Linked DNA regions of Homo sapiens: region 2 is linked to region 1. Evidence: promoter capture Hi-C in human tissues and cell types (Jung and others, 2019). All regions are on one chromosome and are shown on one strand. The core of a region is centred on a gene start or on the middle of the fragment in contact, and the rest is flanking DNA. Distances in the headings are between cores, read along the strand shown. Region 1 holds the start of SRM (spermidine synthase). Region 2 has its middle 11 kb from the start of LINC01647.

What was found. The method cuts DNA at HindIII sites, captures the fragments that hold promoters and counts their contacts. A contact is called where the count stands out against the background at its distance.
Region 2: a contact is called between a fragment that was not itself captured here and the fragment with the promoter of SRM in region 1, in 1 of the 25 tissues and cell types used here (IMR-90 fibroblasts).

Annotation. Positions count from the first base shown.
Region 1 is chr1:11,056,781-11,061,728 of GRCh38, forward strand. SRM (spermidine synthase) reads right to left here and starts at 3,238. Exons shown (of 8, transcript NM_003132.3): 1 at 2,997-3,238; 2 at 2,445-2,565; 3 at 2,020-2,112. The coding sequence starts at 3,163. RefSeq lists silencers at 2,758-2,947, 3,158-3,687. The HindIII fragment of the contact is 6,396 bases long and covers 1,213-4,948 here.
Region 2 is chr1:11,617,812-11,622,737 of GRCh38, forward strand. No RefSeq gene overlaps it. Among named protein-coding and RNA genes, the nearest start is that of LINC01647, 11 kb to the left of the region's middle. The HindIII fragment of the contact is 3,706 bases long and covers 693-4,398 here.

The sequences.
Region 1 (4,948 bases), core at 1,988-4,487:
TCTGGGCCAAGGGGCTGGGGGACCTGGAGCCAGCACAGCCACGTGGGACTCTCCAAGTGCCTCACAGGCAAGCCGCCTTGGCCAACCCCTTCCCTTTTTTTTATTATTTTTTTTTGAGACAGGGTCTCACTTTGTGGCCCAGGCTGGAGTGCAGTGGCATCGATCATGGCTCACTACACCCTCGGCCTCCGGGGCTCAGGTGATCCTCCCCCATCAGCCTCCTGAGTAGCTGGGACAAGTGTGTTCAATCATACTTGGCTACTTTTTAAATTTTTGGTAGAGATAGAGTCTCCCTATGTTGCCTCGAACTCCTCGATCCTCCCACCTCGGCCTCCAAAAGTGCTAGGATTACAGCTGTGAGCCACCACACCTGGCCCCTTTTGGGAACCTCAGTTTATAATGTGTAAAGCGGGGAGAACTCTGGTACCTCCATTTCTCCTTGAGAGCTGGCTCCTGCCGGCGGCTTGGGCTCCTCTCTCCCATCCCTACCCCCTCCTTCCAGACCAAATCGCCCCATCTGAGTGGCTTTCTTGTCGCTTCCTATTTTATTTATTTTTCGAGACAGTCTTGCTCTGCTGCCCAGGCTGGAGTGCAGTGGCACGATCTCAGCTCACTGCACCCTCCTGCCTCAGCCTCCCGAGTAGTTGGGATTACAGGCGCACGCCACCAAGCTGGGCCATTTTTTTTTTTTTTTTTTTATTTTTAGTAGAGACCTTGTGATCTGCCCGCCTCAGCCTCCCAGAGTGCTGAGATTACAGGTGTGAGCCACCAGCGCTTGGCCTGTTTCCTATTTTAGAAGGATGCAATTCCAACCTCTGGCCAGGAGAACCTCCCCCTCCCTGCACACGGCCACCTGCTTTTCACTGAGGTCTCAGCTCAAACGCCACCTCCTGGAGGCCTGCCCTGACCACCCCCCATGCATTCACAGGAACCCTGCCTTCTCCTGTCCCCCAGCCCCTGTCTTGCCTTCATCAGACCATCCTTTGATGTCTCTATTTTTGTTGTTTGTTTTTTTTGAGACAGATTCTTCCTCTGTCACCCAGGCTGGAGTGCAGTGGCGAGATCTCGGTTCATTGCAACTTCCGCCTCCCGGGCTCAAGTAATTCTTCCACCTCAGCCTCCCTAGTAGCTGGGTTTACAGACATGCACTACCATGCCCGGCTAATTTTTGTATTTTTAGTAGAAATGGGGTTTCACCAGGTTGGCCAGGCTGCTCTTGAACTCCTGACCTCAGGTGATCTGCCCGCCTTGGCGTCCCAAAGTGCTGGGATTACAGGTGTGAGCCACCACGTCTGGCCATCTGATGTCTCCTTTAACTAGGACATCAGCTCCTAGAGGGCAGGGACTGATCTGTCGTCTACCACTGTCCCCATACCCGGGCAACACCTGGCACGTAGCATGATTTTAGTGAGCAGCTACTGAGTGTAAGGGGTAACGTACAAATAGTTGAGCTGTCTTGGGGCCCTGCCTGGGGCTCAGATTAAAAATCAGCTTAGTCGGCTGGGCGTGGTGGCTCACGCCTGTAATCCCAGTACTTTGGGAGGACGAGGCTGGCGGATCACCTGTGGTCGCCAGGTCCGAGACCAGCCTGACCAACATGGAGAAACCCTGTCTCTACTAAAAATACAAAATTAGCCGGGCATGGTAGCGCATGTCTGTAATCCCAGCTACTCCGGAGGCTGAGGCAGAAGAACTACTTGAGCCCAGGAGGTGGAGGTTGCAGTGAGCCGAGATCGCACCATCACACTCCAGCCTGGGCAACAAGAGCGAAACTCTGTCTCAAAAAAAAAAAAAAAAAAAAAATCAGCTCAGTTTTAGTAAGAGCTCGCCACGCAGGTGCCCTCACCACCTGCCAGGCCCTCTGCCATCTGGTTTTCCTACTGAACCCTCCCCGACCAGGTGTTTTCCAGATGGAGAAACAGGCCCTACCTGCCTTGCTCGGGGGTGTGCAGCCATTTCAGGGCACAGCTGGCCGCTGGGAGAACCAGGACTCAAACCTGGCTCTACGCCGGCACTCACCTCGTCGATCTCACACTGGACCACGGACTCCACGGAGGGGTGCTTCACCACCTCCCGCAGGACACCTCCATCTCCGCCCCCGATGATCAGCACCTGGGAGGAGGGGGCAGTCAAGGCAGGGGCCCTGGCAGGACTGGGAGCCCCCAGGCCCCTGAAGCAGACCCCCTGACCCCTCGGACCCACGGGCCTCATCTTTTTCTACCCTCGGAAACGCTTTCGTGCCGGTGTCCCCTTTCCTGGAAGTTCCTTCCAGGGCTGCCCTAGGATTCCGAGGCCGCGTCAGTGTCGGCCCCCACCCCTCCGCGGGACGCCCCTGGCCTCGCTAGCACTTTCTCTGACAACCATGCAGGCAGCATCTGGGAAGAGCCCGGAGCACACCTGGGGCCGCCCCTCGTCCGGCACTGTTCCAGGGGACACTGGGGTACCTTTCGCGGGTTGGGGTGGCTGCAGAGAGGCAGGTTGGCGATCATCTCCTGGTAGGAGAACTCGTCTCTCTCCGTGCACTGGATGACACCGTCCAACACCAGCACGTTGCCATAGGTCTTACTGCGGGCGGAGTGACAGTCGGGGACCTGGGTTCTCTGGGGTGGGGAAAACGTACCCCAAGCCGCCCTGGGTGAGGAGGGTCTCCCCATCCCGCCTAGGGGTCCCAGGGATGAGGAGCGATGGTGACACGTGGCGAGGAACGGCAGGCGGGCCGCCGGGTGGAGGCCGGGGTGGGACCCGGGGTCTCCTCGGGCTCTGACGTGTCCTGAGGGCTGACACGTGGAGCGGGGCGCAGACTCCGACTCCCCCACCCAAGAGGCCAGCCCGCAGTCCCAGCCCCAGCCCAGGGAGGCGGTGTGAGGGGTGGCGAGGGGGCCAGGGCAGGACGAGGTCCAGCCCGCTTGGGTCCCGGCGTGGAGAGGCCCGTGAGGCGGGCAGCAGGCGGCCCGGGCTGAGCCTAGGGGGCAGGCGCCTGCGGGCAGCGGCGGTACCTGCGGAAGACGAGGATGTCCTGGTAGCGCGAGCGCCGGTGGTGGAGCAGCTGCTCCACCTGCAGTGACAGGGCCTGGCCGGGCCACAGGCTGCAGGTCTCGCGGAACCAGCCCTCGCGGATGGCGGCGGGGCCGGAGGCGGCGGGGCCGTCGGGGCCGGGCTCCATGGCGGGCGGGCGGGCGGCGCGGGGCGCGGGCCCGGGACTGCAGGCCGCGCGGCGCCGCAGCACAACGGGACCAGCTCCGCCCGCCGCCCGCGCCGCAACCTAACCCGGGCGCGGGGCGGGGCCTGCCGGCGGGGGCGGAGCCCGCGCTCGCCAATGGCAAAGCGGCCTCGCCTGGCGCTCATTGGCCACCGGCTCGCAGAGCGGCGCAGAGTGGCTGTGGCGCGCCGTCCGTCGGCGGCAGCAGGGTAGTGCGGCCCGCTCCAGGGGCCACGTGGGGCCCGGCCGGGGCCGGGCGGCCGGGTCGGGTTCCGGGGCGGGCTGGGCCGGCGGAAGGGGTCCGGGTCCTTCCTCCGCCCCAAGCAGCCGGGGCGGTGCACCACCGGCCCCCGCTTCCTTCTCGGGGTTGGGAGGCACCGAGGGCCTCGAGGGGCTGCGGGACTCGGGCTTGGTGTGGAGGGCAAGAGCGCTGCGACGTGCGGACTGGAGAGTCAGCCTTTGGGCTGGAGACACGGGAGCGGGTGGCTACAGTGGTTTACGTTGTTGCACGGGGCGAGTAGAACGTATCCTTCTTTGCGTCCAAAATCTGGTTCCTTGTTGGATTTGAACAGATTATGTGGCTCGTCGGGGCGAACCGAGGGTTTTTATTTACTTGGAAAGAATCATCACAGCCCGCGAATTCACAAGCTGGATTTAGCCATTTTCCCTTAGATTCTGCGCCATGAGCCTATAGGCTGTTGAATACGAGAGAAGTGCTTTTCTAAACGAGTTTCTAAATTTACCAGCAGTGTCCAGGAAGAGGCCCAGAACATACATATTCAGCACCAGAAAAGACTGGCACGCAATTTTTCTTGACAAACTGGGTCTTGCTCTTTGAAGGGTGGGTGGGAATGTGCTGTTTTTATGAGAATGTCAAAGAACTTCTCAGAATCACATTAAGCATGCTAATTACCAAATATTAAATGCTAATTGTTCCACACGCAGTTCGAATGCCAAGGAAGGAAGATGAAACTAGTATAAGCTACTCTTGACATTATGTCAGGGATGGTTTTGACACGTTTTGCAGCCTCCACCTGGAGGTGGGGAACGTTTCCTGTGTCGTCCCCAGAGCAGAGTAACAGCGTTGTTTATGGGTGAGAGCAAGCCTCAAGCCTAGGCAACAATGTGCCTTGCTTGCTTTTAAGCTCCTTCTAAAGGGGAGGTAAACCAAGACCGCTAAAGAATTGCTAGGTGCCTGGGCGTGATGGTTCACCCCGGTAATCCCAGCACTGTGGGAGGCGGAGGCGGAGGCGGGCGGATCACGAGGTCAAGAGATCAAGACGATCCTGGCCAACATGGTGAAACCCCGTCTGTACTAAAAATACAAAAATTAGCTGGGCATGGTAGTGCGCGCCTGCAGTCCCAGCTACTCGGGAGGCTGAGGCAGGAGAATCGCTTGAACCCGGGAGTTGGAGGTTGCAGTGAGCTGAGATTGCGCCACTGCACTCTAGCCTGGGCAACGATAGTGAAACTCCGTCTCAAAAAAAAAAAAAAAAAATTGCTAGGCAGCTGGGCACAGGGGCTCAGGCTGATAATACTAGAATTTTGGGAGGCCGAGGCAGGAGGACCGCTTGAGCCCAGGAGTTCGAGACCAGCCTGGGCAACATAGCAAGACTGTCTCTAAAAAATAAAAAACATTGCTAGGCAACAGCTTCCATGGACTTGTTCCAGGAACGAAGATTATTCTTGAAATGTCCACGTAGTGGATAAGACAGAGTCAATCAGTGTGTCCAGTGCTACAGGCTTGAT
Region 2 (4,926 bases), core at 1,296-3,795, 560 kb after region 1:
CATCCTGGCAAGCAGGCTTCGGAACCTCTCTTTGCTCAGAGCAAGCACTTCACTCACAGAGGGTCAAACTTGGAGGCAGTTTAAAGACCTTCTAGTCTAGCCCACCCATTGTCCAGACAGGAACACTGAGGCTTAGGGGGCTTGTCCTGGGTCACAGAGTGACTCAGTGACAGTGCTATGACCCAAACCCCAGTGTCCCAACTCCTAGACCAGGAAGCTTGCCCTTCTGTTAAGACATTTTGGGAAGATGGCAAGAAAGTCCTTCCAGCTCAGGGCAGGAAGTCGTCCTTGGCACAGAGCAAGACCTTTGTGGAAAATTGGTGGATAGGAATGAAGAACATTGAATTGGGGGCAGATACTGCCTGTTTCTGCCTGTCTCTCCCCCATTCCATGAGGTCCTGGTAGGGCTTAGTCACAATGCTCTACAAAACATAGTCACGGGAACACACACACACTCATGCACATACAGACACACACAGACATACACACACACACACTTCGTGGGTGTGAGATCAGGCCAGGCTGCCCAGAATTCTAATCCCCCTGATCACACTGATTGGCTCAAGAATGAACACCATGGGTTGGGTGTGGTGGCTCACGCCTGTAATCCCAGAACTTTGGGAGGCCGAGACAGATGGATCATCTGAGGTCGGAAGTTTGAGACCAGCCTGGCCAATATGGTGAAACCCCGTCTCTACTAAAAATACAAAAATTAGCTTGGCATGGTAGCACGTGGCTGTAATCCCAGCTGCTCAGGAGGCTGAGGCAGGAGAATCGCTTGAACCCGGGGAGGCGGAGGTTGCAGTGAGCTAAGATCATACCACTGCAATCCACCCTGGGCGACAGAGCAAGACTCTGTTTCAAAAAAAAAAAAAAAAACACCTGACCCAAGAAGATCAATCAGAGATTTGACACCTGAACCCAGCAAGGAAGATCTCTCTTCCTTTTGGGTAATGAGTTATAGGGGTTCGGGGCTACCATTGGCCTTCTTCCCTAACACGTGGAGAAAGGCTTTGTGAGAACACCTGAAGGGACGCAGACTCCAGATACGCAAAACAGATGATGTCCTGACAATAGCATTTGGGCTCCTGGATCTAGCCTTTCCTGAAACTGGGAAACCCTGAGCACCCAGTTATGTGAGCCAATAAACTCACTTTTTGACTTAAGCTTGTTTAAGGTGGGGTTTTTGTCACTTGCAACCAAAACAGTGCTGACTAGGGTCCTGGGACACACCTGTTTGGGGGCAGAAAGTGGGAAGCAGAACATTTCATTGCCCTCAGCCCCTGTGACGGTCTAGGGAGGCCCTTGTCCATAAGGAAGGCATGGGATCTCGGGAGAAGCCACCTGAAGATCACAGGGGCATGTCCTGGACCGAGAGTCAAAACACCTGGGCTCTTTCACTCCCAAGCTGCGTGACCTTCGACCAGTCAACCAACCCCTCCTTTATCAAGCATGCCTTTTATTTTCTGTGTTCTGATACTTTGACATCTGGGGCTTTGTGACCCTGGAGGGTTAAGAGCTGGTAAATTCTTAGAGATAGTAACCAACTTGCCCATGAGCCCATTTGCTTTGAAAATGCAAACCAACCAATCCAGAGTCTATACCAGCAACTACCTCCTTTATTGGCTCTCACACTTTGGACCACTATCCACCTGCCCTGATCACTCCAGGGTCATCTACCAGACAACTAGGGGCAGCCCTTGTGGCCCAGAATGCACTGAAATTATTCAAACTAGCCAACCCTAAGCCGGCTTGCTCTGCCTCATTCGTTCCTTCTCATGGATACCACAATAAATGTTCTTGCCCACGATTTCCCCCTCCCTCTACCTCCTGACTGCCCCTATGTGCCCCCTCATGGCTGGACAAGCCCGCTCCTCTTGGGATCTGTGAGTGTAATAATCTGTCTTTTTTTTTTTTTTTTTTTTTTTGAGGCGGAGTTTTGCTCCTGTCACCCAGGCTGGAGTGCAATGGCGCAATCTCGGCTCACTGCAACCTCCGCCTCCCAGGTTCAAGCGATTCTCCTGCCCCAGCCTCCCAAGTAGCTGGGATTACAGGAGCCCGCCACCATGCCCAGCTAATTTTTGTATTTTTAGTAGGGACGGGGTTTCACCATGTTGGCTAGGCTGCTCTTGAACTCCTGACCTCACGTGATCTGCCCGCCTCAGCCTCCCAAAGTGCTGGGATTACAGGCGTGAGCCACTGTGCCTGGCCACAGACTGTCTTTTCAATGTCAGCTGTCTGCTAATCTGTTGACCTCACCATATCTGGAATCAGACGTGATTGTGTAAAAGCCTTGAAATTACAGAGGGCTCTGCAGATGAGAGAGGGTGCATTCAAACCCAAAGACAGTCCTTCTAGAACACTACCATTAGATTGCCTTTGGAGCAAGTAGAACTGGAATTATCATCCTACTCCTCAGATGGGTAAACTGAGGCACAGCAAGGTTAAATGCCTTGCCCTAAGACTTGCAGCTCGTTTTCCAAAGATCCAGAACTGGAAGTCAAGACAGAAGAAGGTATAATCCAGGCCAGCTGGGGTTAACCAAGGAGTGTGTCTTGGAGGAGGTAGACAGGCGCCCGCCACACACATGCACACCCTGTATGCACACACACCCATGCACACTGTCTCTTTCTGCCAGCCCTGGCTGAATTAAGAATGCATGTGCTGTAGAGGACCGGCTAGACAATTTTCCTGTCACTCCCGCTCCTAGTTTCTCCCACCTCGTCCTTGGACACAACTGGGAATCTCTTTAAGGCTCACAATTGGGCCCTTTCAACTGGCATTGGTTCCACGCCTCACCACGTGACTCCGCCTCTCCCCAAGCTTTTCAGTGGCCACTTTCTCAGCCCAACGAAGCCTGACAAATCCTTCCTGCAAACGTGCATGTCCCGGGCTCAGAATAACCTACCAAAAGAAAATAAAACCCCCATGAAGTGAGTCCAGGTGACTCAAAGCGTTCTGTTGGCAGCAGCATTTCCGGCGTCTGCTTTCTCTCTGGATCACAAACATTTCTCATCTGCTGGAGCCATTCAAGACAAGGCCACAGGCAGCCAAGGAAGCCCATGGCCCTGGAGACCCCAAACAACTGCACTGAAATGATTAGATGCTCCCCATCTTCCTGCCAGGAGTGTGTTGGGGGCCGGGGAAGGAAGACATCTGGTCTTTTGTACAAATAGAGAATAACAACAATCGTAGTAATTGTCAGTACAAAGTTATTGCCACTCACTATATGCCAGCCATTGTTCTGTTAATAGGCACTTTGCATTTCTTAGCTCATTTAGTCCTAACACCAAGTCACTAAGACAATTATTAATACTGTGCCCATTTTACAGTTGGGAACACTTGCAAAGACTGAATCCATCTGACAACCCGTGATCAACACCCTTACATGGCAATGATCAGTGGAGCAGAGAAATGGCTGCCCCTTTAGGTGGGACGCGCTGTTCCAATTTGCCACAGCCCCCACCAGTCCCTGTTATATTACACCCTGTCTGTCTCACCCATTTAAGTCACTTGCTCTGCACCTATGGGTGTCTGAGTTGTCAACCTCTACACTATGCTGCCTCCTCCCTCATACTTCCTTCACTCTCATCTCCTTCTTCAGGAATCAGGATTTGGGGCCTAAATCTGCAGAAAGCTCGACCCTTCCCTTTCCTACAGACTGACTCCTCCAGGAAGCCTTCCCTGCTTAATCACCAACGCTGCAAATGTCTAAGCTGAAAGGATTATTTGAGGTCATTTGGTTCTAACCCGTCAGTTACAGATGAGGATACTGAGGCCCAGAGAGCTAGGAATGCTGCTGTCTGCCTGGTCCTACGCCTAACGGTGATCAAGCCCTGTCCGCCAACAAGGTCAGCATGCCCCTTCCTACCTGTCGGGGAGGTAGGGCTGGGGTTGTTCCCGTGCCCATTTTATGGATGAAGGAACTGAGGCAAGATGCTGGGTCTCTCTTTGCAATGTCTGAGGCTGCTCTCACTTCCGAGGGCTCCCTGACCACGGGCCAAGGCTGTTTGGCCCTCCCAGTATTCCTGATGCTTCCATCAGTCCCTGAGCTCTAGAACCAGGTCTGAGCCCCCTCACCTTTGCCTGGGCACAGGGCCTCAAGGAGCCCTAGCTTTGTGCTGCACCTAAGCCTCCTTGTCTGATATTCTGGCCCTTCGTTCCACCTCCTGCATTTCACATCTGGCCCAGCTACACTGTCCTTCCAGGGGTAGGTGGAGCCTGTATTCTGCTTATTTCCCAACAGAAGAAAGAGCATCCCAGAGAGGCTAAATGTGACCTAAGGTCACACAGGGACTCCTGGCAAAGCTGGCAGCAGCACCTGACCCCAACCCCTGTCTTACCATGTTTTTCTCTCCACTCTGTGACCCATTCTCTCTGCTCAGGCCTCCCTCTGGGGACCCCGACCATCTGGAAGACATTCCTTTTTCTGAGTGGGCAGTAGAGTCTTAGACCCACCCCAGACAGTCATTTTTGTGGAACCTTTGATACACACACCCTGGCAGGACCCTTAGGGTCCCCTCCCTCCTACTTCCAGGACCTGCCTATCTCTGGATAACCCAAGACTGTCTGTACAGCTGTGCAGGTTGCACACTGCTCGCCCAGCACAGCCACTTACTACAGTCCTAATTGTCACTCACTAGGCATCCCCACACATCCTGCACAGTACAGCTGCCAAATGCAGGAAGGGTTGCAGCAGCCTGCCACTCCCGGGCACCAGTGAGCTTCTCCTTCTCCACTCTGCACCTCCTAACCCTCCCACCACCACCTCTGAAGCAATCAGGAGGCCACCAGGACTGGCAGGAAAGGTCCCCTGAGTAGGGGAAATCTTGCTTGGCCATAATTAAACTCCACTGCTGTGCAGGCTGCAGACAAAAAGGAACCCATAATGGGATTAGAATTGTAATAAATTAAAATCATAAATTC